Linked DNA regions of Homo sapiens: region 2 is linked to region 1. The links are contacts of gene promoters, found by promoter capture Hi-C in human tissues and cell types (Jung and others, 2019). All regions are on one chromosome and are shown on one strand. The core of a region is centred on a gene start or on the middle of the fragment in contact, and the rest is flanking DNA. Distances in the headings are between cores, read along the strand shown. Region 1 holds the start of NXNL2 (nucleoredoxin like 2). Region 2 has its middle 140 kb from the start of DAPK1.

What was found. The method cuts DNA at HindIII sites, captures the fragments that hold promoters and counts their contacts. A contact is called where the count stands out against the background at its distance.
Region 2: a fragment that was not itself captured here is called in contact with the fragment with the promoter of NXNL2 in region 1 in 1 of the 25 tissues and cell types used here (dorsolateral prefrontal cortex).

Annotation. Positions count from the first base shown.
Region 1 is chr9:88,532,623-88,538,590 of GRCh38, forward strand. NXNL2 (nucleoredoxin like 2) reads left to right here and starts at 2,556. Exons shown (of 2, transcript NM_001161625.2): 1 at 2,556-3,114. The coding sequence starts at 2,813. It overlaps LOC105376134 (a long non-coding RNA gene), which reads right to left and starts at 1,918. Exons shown (of 2, transcript XR_007061653.1): 1 at 1,392-1,918. RefSeq lists enhancers at 2,342-3,176, 3,177-4,010. The HindIII fragment of the contact is 10,556 bases long and covers 1-5,968 here.
Region 2 is chr9:87,356,137-87,362,104 of GRCh38, forward strand. No RefSeq gene overlaps it. Among named protein-coding and RNA genes, the nearest start is that of DAPK1, 140 kb to the right of the region's middle. The HindIII fragment of the contact is 7,043 bases long and covers 1-5,968 here.

The sequences.
Region 1 (5,968 bases), core at 1,306-3,805:
GGTGGCTCAAGCCTGTAATTCCAGCACTTTGGGAGGCAGAGGTGGGTAGATCACCTGAAGTCAGGAGTTTGAGACCAGCCTGGCTAACATGATGAAACCCCGTCTCTACTAAAAATACAAAAATTAGCTGGGCGTGGTGGCACGCGCCAGTAATCCCAGCTACTCAGGAGGCTGAGGCGGGAGAATTGCTTGAACCCGGGAGGCGGAGGTTGCAGTGAGCCGAGATCACGCCATTGCACTCCAGCCTGGGCAACAAGAGCGAGACTCCATCTCAACCAACCAACCAAACCAAACCAAAATAAAACAAAACAAAAACCTGCGCCCCTCCTCATGGCTCTTCTTTTGGCATAGCACCTGCAAAATATCTTCCTTATTTATTGTTTGTGCCCGTTAGAACATAAGCTCCAGGCAGGCACAGGAGCAGGACTCAGGGGTCGGTGAACGTGACGGGAGTCCAAAGTCAGTGGGGGATCCATCTTGTCTTAGGAGAGCAAAGACCTTCTCTCTGTCCTCCCCAGTTCCATAGCTGGCTCTATGAAATTAACTGCCAACGGGCAGATGAACGGGGGGAACGGGAATACACATTTATTAATCTTTAATATCACCTGCATGGGGGCATTGCAGGAAACTAGGTGAAAACCCCCCAAACCAGTGAGCTTTGAGAGCTTCTAAAATTGGGGAACTGGAAGCTGGTGTAGGCCACTTAGGGGAGAGTAACTGATTTTTAGGAAAGATGCATAAGTCTTTATGAGTTTGTGACAAAGTTTGTCTAGGTGTGGTGTGGACTTCTGCTGTGATAAGAGTCCATCCTCCCGGGAGGGAATTTACGACAATCAGTTTCTTTTGGAGGTTCCGTCTTTAGACAGGTAAGGGGAGAACGTCTCTCTGCATTTGCTATTTTTCAAGTGCCTCTCGCTCAAAATAATCAATATACCAAAGCGGCATATTTTAGGATGGCATATTTTGGTTTCATTCACTGTCTTTAAGTTTTTGATATTTTGTTCATTATAAACTTTTTTTGCATTCATTTTGACTTTTTAAGATATTGTATTAAAACATTATTTACCTTGACTACTGAGTTTTTTTGTCGCGCCCTTAAATTTTGCCCCTATGCGAGTGCCTCGCTCGCTTGCCTCCTTCTAGCCCGGGTCTGGCAGGGAGTTGAAATTATTTTTCTCACTGCTGAATTCCCAGGGCCTACAACAGTGCTCGCCAAAAAATTAATACTCTTGGTTCTTCAAATAAAACATTCTGTAAGGACTGCTCCCAATTTCTTCCTGAACTTCACGAACCCTCCCAGCCAGGCCACAGGATGTCAGGGGCAAACACCCTGAACCAACGGAGCTCAGGTTCCCTACCACCCCGCCCAAGCCCGCTCCAAGCCCAATTACCCTTCCCCTTCCTCGTCGTCCCATCCTCCCTGATGCCTCTTCCAGGGTGCTGGGCCGCGCGGCAAGAGCTCCAAGGCAAGATTCAAATGCCCTGGGGAGACGGCTGCGGGACACCTGCGGCGGGGCCCGGCAGGGAGCGCGAGACTGGAAGAGAGGCCAGGAGGGAAGGAGAGCGACGCGGGGTTTTGGGGGAGGGGCTGCGTGGGGCGCTGAAGGGGAGCGCGAGGAGTGGGAGGAAGTGAAGGAGGAGGAAGAGCACGGTGTGGGGGAAGCGCAGGAGGCAATAGGTGGGGCGGGACGGAGGGCAGGGCGCTGCGTCGGGAGAAAGTGTAGAAGCGCTGGGGAGAGTGCCCACGACGGGAGAGCCCAGGGGCGCGAGGGCGCGGGAGTGTGGGCGGGGCGCAGTGGGGATGGGGGCGGGGGCGCGGGATGTGGTAGGGGGCGTAGTGGGGAGAGAGTGCAGGAGTGTGGGCAGGGCGCAGTGTGGGGAGGGTGCGGGAGTGTGAGCGGGGCGCAGTGGAGGGAGTGCAGGATGTGGGCTGGACAACCAGTGGGAGAGGGCGCGGGAGGTGGGCGGGGCGCAGTCGGGATGGGGGCGGGGGCGCGGGATGTCGGCGGGCCGCAGTGAGGGGGAGGGCGCGGGAGTGTGGGCGGGGCGCAGTGGGGGAGGGAGCGGGAGTGTGCGCGGGGCGCAGTGAGGGGAAACTGTGGAATGTGGGCGAGGCGCAGTTGGAGAAGAGTGCGGGGATGTGGGCGGGGCGCAGTGAGGGGAAACTGTGGAATGTGGGCGAGGCGCAGTTGGAGGAGAGTGCGGGGATGTGGGCGGGGTGCGGTGGGGGAGGGTGCGGAGATGTGGGCGGGGCGCAGTGGGTGGAGAGTGTAGGGATGTGGGCCCAGCGCAGTGGGGGACAGTGTGGGGATGCGGGCGAGGCGCAGTGGGGGCGGGGGCGGGGATGTGGGCGGGGCGCAGTGGGTGGAGAGTGCGGGATGTGGGCGGGGCGCAGTGGGTGGAGAGTGCGGAATGTGGGCGGGGCGCAGTTGGGGAGCTTGCGGGGAATGTGGGCGGGGCGCAGTGGTGGGAGGGCGCAGGAGTGTGGGCGGGGCGCAGTTGGGGGAGGGTGCAGAGACCTGAGGGCTTGAGGTTGCCTGGCTGGCCCCGCTCCCAGAGGCGGGTGCCGCGCTGTCGCCCAGGTATCTGGGGTCTCTGGTGTCTGAGTGTCTCATTGTCGGCGCGAACACAATTGCTCCAGCCACAGGCGAGGCCTGGCCAAGGTGTGGGCGCATCTGGGGCAGGTCTTGAGAGGTCCAGCGCCCGGTGGTGCGGACAGAGGCGGGGCACCGCGGCGCTCGCCGCCGCCTCCCCGCAGGTGATCATCCTCCTGCAGGTGTCCTCGGGTCTCAGGTGGCTGCGTGTCTGCGCCATGGTTGACATTCTGGGCGAGCGGCACCTGGTGACCTGTAAGGGCGCGACGGTGGAGGCCGAGGCGGCGCTGCAGAACAAGGTGGTGGCACTGTACTTCGCGGCGGCCCGGTGCGCGCCGAGCCGCGACTTCACGCCGCTGCTCTGCGACTTCTATACGGCGCTGGTGGCCGAGGCGCGGCGGCCCGCGCCCTTCGAAGTGGTCTTCGTGTCAGCCGACGGCAGCTCCCAGGAGATGCTGGACTTCATGCGCGAGCTGCATGGCGCCTGGCTGGCGCTGCCCTTCCACGACCCCTACCGGCAGTGAGTGGGGGTCCTGGGGGGGCGGGGGCCGCCCGGCACGTCTCCCCCATGTTCCCCCAGGCCTCCCCCTCTGCACTGGGGAGCTCTTTATGACGCCCCCCCCCAACACCTCCCCGTCTCTCGGTTCACGTCCGGACTCCGGTAAATCACACTCAGTCTCAGTTTCAACCTCTCTTGGAGACCAGGGAGGGTGCAGACCAGATTCGAAAACCCAGGGCATCGGCACCCCAAGGGGGCTCGTGGAGCATGGACGCGGGCGCGTTTCTGCCTGGGGTCTGGAGCTCCGGGAATCTGCATTGCGAAGGAGCTCCCAGTGGTGGTGATGCTGTGAGTTCGCGGGCTCGGCTCCGGGAACCGCCGGCCCAATCAGCCCTGGACTCCCGGCGCCGCTGCGTCATCCTCCCAGTTAGTGGGCAGGAAGCACAGGGACATGACCCGGTGTCTGGATGCGGGGATGAGGGATGACCCGCGAGGACATCAGCTCTGTGACAGGCACCCACAGTGCAGGCCGTGGTTGGTTTGCTGGGAGGGAGGGACGGGGGCTTCAAGGCTGGCAGGAACCCAGGTGCTGGCCACCTTTGCGGTTTCATTTTTACCGACACTGATGGAATTTCATCACTAGAGAAGCATAAAACTCATTACTATAAACTTTATTACTCTAACTGTTGCAAAGGAGGGGGTAGGGATTGGCAGAGAGGGGATTACAGGGATTGATTGTTCTGCTTTTGGGGTGGGTCTCCTGTGGTCTCCTATGGTGTAAGAGTCCAGACTTAGGTTTAAAGCAGGCCTCGTCAAGTATGTTGTCCTGGCCACCCCCTTCTAGGTACCAATGTGAATTTCTGGGTTTTGCTTTACAGCCTCACATTTCTGGAGATTATCATTAAGTTGTGGCATTACCCCCTAAACTGATTATCATGAGATGACATTCCTTCTGGAAAATGAAAACTGGAAGCTAACTTTGGAAAGTTTTGTAGATGAGTAATTAATGGGAAGAAATCTAATTATTCCCCCAAACATGATTTTTGGTGATTCCCAGTGAAAGAGGAGGCCCAGGCAGGGCACCGCCCAGCCTTCCAGGGGGGTAACCTGCTTCTGGGAGCCTCACTCACACCGGGACTCTGAAAGTTCTATTGATAATGAATCTCCAAGATGGGTGGTTCACTTTGCAAAAGGATTTCTTACAGAATCAGTTCAAGTGGTGCTTTTAAAAACAGGATTGGACTTGTTTAGTACTCAAGTTATTTGTAAGCTTTTGAAAGAACGCAGGTTTGAAAGCGAGAGACGATGGCAGTATCATTATAGTAATTAGGCACAAAGCTCTGGCCCAGCTCTGGGATTTACTTGCCAGGTGATGGCAGGCAAGGTATTTTATTGCTGAGCATATGATACATCACGTGGTTGTTGTCAGGGTTGAGCTGATCACATATGAGCTCATGTGTCCGCTGGTTATGTCCCAGCTCTCTAGTCTATTGCCCCATTTTACAGATGTGCCATTGAGGCATAGAGTTCAGTTCTCCTGGCTCTGAGGACCCTCTTTCTGCCGTGCCCTACTTCCTCACTGAGGGGGTGGTGAGTCTTGGTCCCCAGCGGCACACAGATTGGACTGGGGAGGTCATCGCTTGGGGCCATGGAGACTGCTCGTCTGTTTCTGATGCTCTGGTCAAGCCTGTGAGCTCCAGCTGGAGGCAGTGAGCTGCGTGACGTGGGTCAGCTGTGTGCTCCTATCTTCTCAGCCTGGCTGGCCTGGGAGGGATTTTTCTTTTTGTAAACTTAGCTGTTTGTCCCTACCCCTTTCCACACTGAACTTCCTTAACTCTGTTGTTGTCATGTGTAAGCTAGGTAGTGGGATATTCTGTGGGAATTGTTGGAGCTACGCCCTAAATTCTGCTTATCCTACGTCTACAGGACCTTGGTGTTCCCATCTGATTGGCTCTTGGTTCAAAGACCAATCCGGTTTAGCCATGCCTTGCTCCAACTCTCCGGGGGTTTCCTGAGTTTCCATTGCCCACAGGACAGAGCCAGACATGGTTCAGTGCCTGGCATCCCCAGGGAGTGTGTTTGGTGAGTAGTTGAAGCAAGTGAGCAAAAGACAGTTCTGCAGAGAGATTTGCTTGGCCACAGCCTGCTCCTGGCTGAGATGACAGACTAGAGTCAGGAGTTGCCATGGCAACCCAGAAGTGTGGTTTATGCCAGCAACAAGGATGTGGCTGTGTTAGTTGAAGGCAGGGACCAACGCTGGTTGCAACAGTGCTGAGGACAAGGAGGAACTGGGCTCTTGGATTTTCCCCAAATGCTTAAAGTCCTAAGTTATTACCATGACAACATTCTCTCCTCCAAAAGCAAGTTCTTTTCTCTGTGGACACAGCTCAGGGCCCAGAGGGGATTGAGATGACATTAGGGAAAAAGTGAGGTTCTTTGCCTCTCATGTGCAGCTCCAAGGTTACATTTGTCCCCAGGCAGAGGCTGCCAGCATGGGGATTTGAGGGCTGGTACTGAGTGTCTCTTGGAATATCAGTGAAATGACCACCTCCACCCTCCTGATTCCTCAAAGCCCAGCCTGCTCTGCATCCCCCTGACTGTGTTAGAGCTTGATTTAATGTTGCAAGTGATTAAAACAGCAGCAATGAGAACAACTCAAAGAGCTTGAACAGTAAAGGTTATGGGCTGGCTTTAATGAGACACCCATCAGCCAGAAGATGGTGTCAAGGGCAAGCTGGAGGCCACGGAGGATGCAGCTTTGTGGCTCGCCTTCTGCCACGTCTGCCCCTTGCTCAGGCTGCAGGCAGTTGCTGCCTGGCAAATCCTGTGTCTCCTCACGGTGGCAGAATGGCTGCTGTGTCTCAGACTGCGCATT
Region 2 (5,968 bases), core at 1,665-4,164, 1.2 Mb before region 1:
TTTGTATAGACATATAATTTTATTTATCTTGAGTAAATAAGAACTCAACAGTTGAATCATACAATATGTATATTTTTAACTTTTGAAAAAATTGCCAAAATGTTTTCCAAAATGGCCGTATCATTGTACACTTCCAACAGAAGTGTATGAGAGTTCCAGCTATTTCACATCCTCATCAATAATTAGTGTGGTCAATTTTAAACCATTTCAATAGGTGCATGTGATAATCCATTGTGCTGATTTACAATTCTCTAATGACTAATGATGCTGAGCATCATTTTGTGTGTTTAAATAAATCCATAAATCTTCCTTAAGTACATGTTTAAATATTTTGATCATTTGTATTAATTTTTTGTTTTCTTCTTATTGAGTCTCAAGTTTTTATATATAATGGATATGATTACTTAGTCAAATACATAATATGCACACATTTTTCTCTCTGTCTATGACCTATCTTTCATTTAAGAGATTTTCAGCCAGGTGTGGTGGCTCATGCCTGTAATCCCAGCACTTTGGGAGGCCAAGGCGGGTGGATCACAAAGTCAGGAGATCGAGACCATCCTGAAAACCCCATCTCTATTAAAAATCCAAAAAATTAGCCAGGCATGGTGGCAGGTGCCTGTAATCCCAGCTAATTGGGAGGCTGAGGCAGGAGAATCGCTTGATCCCAGAAGGCGGAGGTTGCAGTGAGCTGAGATCGTGCCACTGCACTCCAGCCTGGGTGATATAGTGAGACTGTCTCAAAAAAAAAAAAAAGAGATTTTCATTCTCTGAAATCTGTTCCCCTAAGAACAGAAGTCTTAAGTTTGATGAAGTCTAATCCGTAAGTTTTTTCTTTTACAAATCATGCTATTGATATTTTTTGTAAGAAAGCTTTGCCTTAATTAAGATAACACAGATATTCTCTTATGTTTTCTTCTGGAAGTTTTATAGTTTGGGGTTTTACATTTAGCTTTATGATTCCCTTTTAGTTAATTTTTGAATATGTGAATTAACCAGATGAGTGATGGGCTCTTTCTGAGCTTTTTATTCTGTTTTATTAATTTACTTGTCCATGTTAACAACAAGAACACACTGTCTTGATTACTGTATCTAGGGAAGAAGCCAGAAGTCAAATAGTGAAAGTTTTCTAATTTTGTTTTTCCCTTACAAGTTTGTTTTAGACATTCTAGATCATTTGCATTTCTATATGCATTTTAGAATCAGCTTGTCAACTTCTAGAAAACAGTCTGATGGAATTTTGTGTAGAAATGCATTGAAACTGGCCAGGCACAGTGGCTCATGCCTGTAATCCCAGCACTTTGGGAGGCCGAGGCAGGCGGATCATGAGGTCAGGAGATTGAGACCATGGTGAAACCCCATCTCTACTAAAAAATACAAAAAATTAGCTGGGCGTGGTGGCAGGCGCCTATAGTCCCAGCTACTTGGGAGGCTGAGGCAGGAGAATGGTATGAACCCGGGAGGTGGAGCTTGCAGTGAGCCGAAGATCATGCCACTGCACTCCAGCCTGGGCAAGAGAGTAAGACTCCATCTCAAAAAACAAACAAACAAACAAAAACAAACAACAAACAAAAAACAAACAAAAAAAGAAATGCATTGAAACTACAGATCAATTCAAGGAGAGCTGACATCTTAACAATAAGATGAGTCTTACAATCCATGAACATGGTATATCTATTTATTTGAGCATTCTTTAATTTTTTTTTCAGTAATGTTTTGTAGTTTTCAGGTCTGGTGTATCTTTTGTAAGATTTACTCTTAAGTACCTTTTTATACTATGTAAATTGTGCTGTTTCTTTACTTACAATGAATGGGGTTTTTTGTTGCTAGTATTAATACATAGAAATAAAATTGACTTTTTATATTGATTTCTATATTGATTTTGAATAGCACATTATTATTAAGGTAAGAGTAGCAGTTCTAGCAGCATTTTGGAGATTTGGTAGAATTTTCTATATAGAAAATCATATTGTTAGCTAATACTAACAGTTTTACTTCTTCATTTCCAATTTTGCTACCATGCGTTTCATTCCTTTTTCCTTTTTTTTTTTTTTTTTTTTTGCCTTTTGCGAAGGCTTGACATTTTGAAAAAATTTTGAATAAAAGTAGTAAGACAGACATTTTTTACTTGCTTCTGATATTGGGGAGAAATATCAGTCTCTAAGTATTAAGTATGATGTTAGACATAGGTTTTTTATTAATCCCTTTACAAGGTTGAAAAAATTTGTTTCTATTTTGATTTTTGATTTTTGTCAAATGCCTTTTTGACATTTATTTAAATGATCATACAGTTTTCCTTTCTTAATCTATCAACATGGAAGATTACATCTACTGTTTTTTGAATATTAAACCAGCCTTGTTGTACTCATGGATTAAGAAATATTTGATCACGTCTTTTCAGGAGGCACAGCAAGATAGCCAAATAGAGGACTTCACTGATCATCCTCCCTAAAGGAACACCAAATCAAACAACTATCTATGCAAAAAGCAGCTTTGTAAGAACCAAAAATTAGGTGAGTGATCACAGTACCTGTTTTTAATTTTATATCCTTGACAGAGATGCTGAAAAGAGTAGAAAAGATAGTCTTGAATTACCAATGCCCCCCTCCCCCATCCTCCAGCAGCAGCCATGTGGCACAGAGAGAATCTGTGTGCTTGGGAGAGAGAAAGTGCAGTGACTGTGGGACTTTCCATTAAAACACAGTTCAGCTCTATGACAGCAGAAAGCACACTGGGCAGCACTCAGCCAGCACCTATAGAAGGAGAATTTGGACTGCCTTAACCAGAGGGGAATTGCCCATCCGAACAGTTGGAACGTGAGTTCTGGCAAGCCTCACCTCTGTGGACTAAAGTTCTCTGGGTCCTAAATAAACTTGCAAGGCAATCTAGGCCATAAGGACTATAATTCCTGGGCAAGTCCTGATACTGTGCTGGGTTCAGAGCCAGTGGACTTGGGGGCACATGATGTAGTGAGACACCAGCTGGAGAGGCAAAGAGAATGCTCCAGGCAGTACAGCTCGCAGCTCTGGGAGATATTCCTTTACTCTGCTTGAGGAGAGAAGAGGGAAGAGTAAAGAGAACTTTGTCTTGCAACTTGGATGCCAGCTCAGCCATAATATGATAGGGCACCAGGCAGAGTCCTGAGGCCTCCATTCCAGGCTCTAGCTCCTGAACATTTCTAGACACATGTTGGGCCAGAAGAGAGCCCACTGTCTTGAAGGGAAGGGCCCAGTCCCAACAGGATTCATCACCTGTGCACTAAAGAGCCCTTTGGCCCTGGATAATTGGCAGTGATACCTAGGCAGTACTCATCATGGGCTTTGGATGAGACTCAGAAATGTGTTGACTTTAGGCATGACCACCACATTCCCAGCTGTTGTGACTATGGGGAGAGATTCCTGCTGCTTGAGAAAAAGAGAGGGAAGAGTAGAAAGGACTTTGTCTTGCAGCTTAGGTAGAAGCTCAGCCACAGTGGAGTAGAAGACTGAGTGAGCTCCTGGGGTCTCTGATTTCAGGCCTTGGCTCTTGGATGGAATTTCTAGACCTGGCCTGGGAGCCCACAGCCTTCAAGGGAGAGTCCTAGAACTGGCAGCATTCACCTCAAGCTGATTAAAAAGCACTTGAGCCTTGAGAGTGAACATTCGTGGTGGCCAGGCAGTACTCATTGCAGGTCTGGGGTAGTGGTGGCCACAGGGGGAGACTCTTCTGCTTATGAAAAGAGGAGAGAAGAGTGGGAAGGACTTTGTCTTGTGGCTTGGATGCCAGCTCAGCTGCAGTAGAATAGAGTACCAAGTAGATTCCTAAGGTTTCTGACTACAGACCCTGGCTCCAAGATAACATCTCTAGACCTTCCCAAGGCCAGAGGGAACTTGCCATCCTGAAGGGAAGGAAACAAGCCTGGATTGCTTTGCCATCTACTGATGTAGAGCTCTAGAGCCTTGAGTGAACATAGGCAGTAGCCAGGCAGGGATTATCACAGGCATTGGGTGAGATCCAATGTTATGCTGGCTTCAGATCTGACCCAGCATAGTCCCAGTGGTGGCAACAGGGGTGTTTGTGTCACTCCTCCCCCAGCTCCAGGGAGCTCAGCACAGAGAGAGAGACTTTGTTTGTTTGGGACAAAGTAAAAGAAGAGAACAAGAGACTCTGCCTGGTAATCCAGAGAATTCTTCTGGATATTATCCAAGACCACCAAGGCAGTACCTCTACAAGTCTGCAAGAACCGCAGCATTACTGGGTTTGGGGTGCCCAGATATGGGTATAGTGACCAAAAACATAGATTACATAACACAAGTCCCTTTGAATACCTAGAACGCCTTCCCAAGGACTGGTACAAACAAGCCCAGACTACAAAGACTACAATAAATACTTAACTCTTCAATGCCCAGATACTGACAAACATCCACAAGCATGACCATCCAAGAAAACGTGACCTCATCAAACAAACTCAATAAGGCACCAGTAACCAATTCCAGAAAGACAGAGGTATGCAACCTTTCAGACAGAATTCAAAATAGCTGTTATAAGATAACTTAGTGAAATTTAAGATAACACAGAAAAGGAATTCAGAATCCTATCAGATAAATTTAACAAAGAGATTGAAATAATTAAGCAGAAATTCTGGTGTTGAAAAATGCAATTGACATACTGAAGAATGCATCAGCGTCTCTTAACAGCAGAGTTGATTAAGCAGAAGAAAGAATTAGTGAGCTTGAAGACAGCCTATTTGAAGATACACAGTCAGAAGAGACAAAAGAAAAAAATAAAAAGAAATGTTGCACACCTACGGGATCTAGAAAATATCTCTAAAGTTTAAATCTAAGAGTTATTGGCCTTAAAGAGAAGGTAAAGAGAGAGATCAGAGTAGGAAGTTTATTCAAAAGGATAATAACAGAGAATTTCCCAAACCTAGAGAAAGAAATCAATACTCAAGTAAAATAAAGTTATACAACCAAGCAGATTAAACCCAAATAAGACTACCTCAAGACATTTAATAATCATACTCCCAAAAGTCAAGGGTAAAGAAAGAATCATAAAAGCAGCAAAAGAAAAGAAGCAATTAACATACAACAGAGCTCCAAAACATCTGGCAGCAGACTTTTTTAGTAGAAACCTTAGAGGCCAGGAGAGAGTGGCATGACATATTTTAAGTGCTAAAGGAAAATAACTTTTGTCCTAGAAGAATATATGCAGTGAAAATTTCCTTTAGACATGAAGGAAAAAAAAGACTTTCCCAGACAAACAAAAGGTGATGAATTTTATCAACATCAGACCTGTCTTACAAGAAATGCTAAAAAGAGGTCTTCGATCTGAAAAAAAAGGACATTAATGAGCAATAAGAAATCATCTGAAGGTGCAAAACTCACTGGTAATAGTAAGTACACAGAAAAGCATGGAATATGATAACACTATAATGTGGTGTGTCTACTACTCACATCATGAGTAAAAAGAGTAAAAGATGAACTGATCAAAAATAATAATTACAACAGCTTTTCAAGACATAGTACAATAAGATAGAAATAGAAACAACAAAAAGTTAAAAAGCAGAGAGACAAAGTTATAGTGTACAGTTTTTATCAGTTTTCTCTTTGCTGGTTAGTTTGTTCATGCAATCAGTGTTAAGTTGTCATCAGTTTAAAATAATTGGTTATAAGATATTATTTGCAGGCCTCATGGTAACCTCAAATAAAAAAACATGCCACAGAAATTCTAGCTGGCTCTTTAAGGGAAAAAAAAGGAAAGAAAACATACAACAGATACACAGAAAATAAAAACAAGAAATTAAAATATACCACTAGAGGAAAATCACCTTCACTGAAAGAAAGACAGGAAGGAAGGAAAGAAGGAAGAACATAAAACAACCATAAAACAAATAAAATGGCAAGAGTAAGTTCTTGCTTATCAATAATAATATTGAATGTAAATGAATTAAATTCTCCAATCAAAAGACATAGTGACAGAATGGATT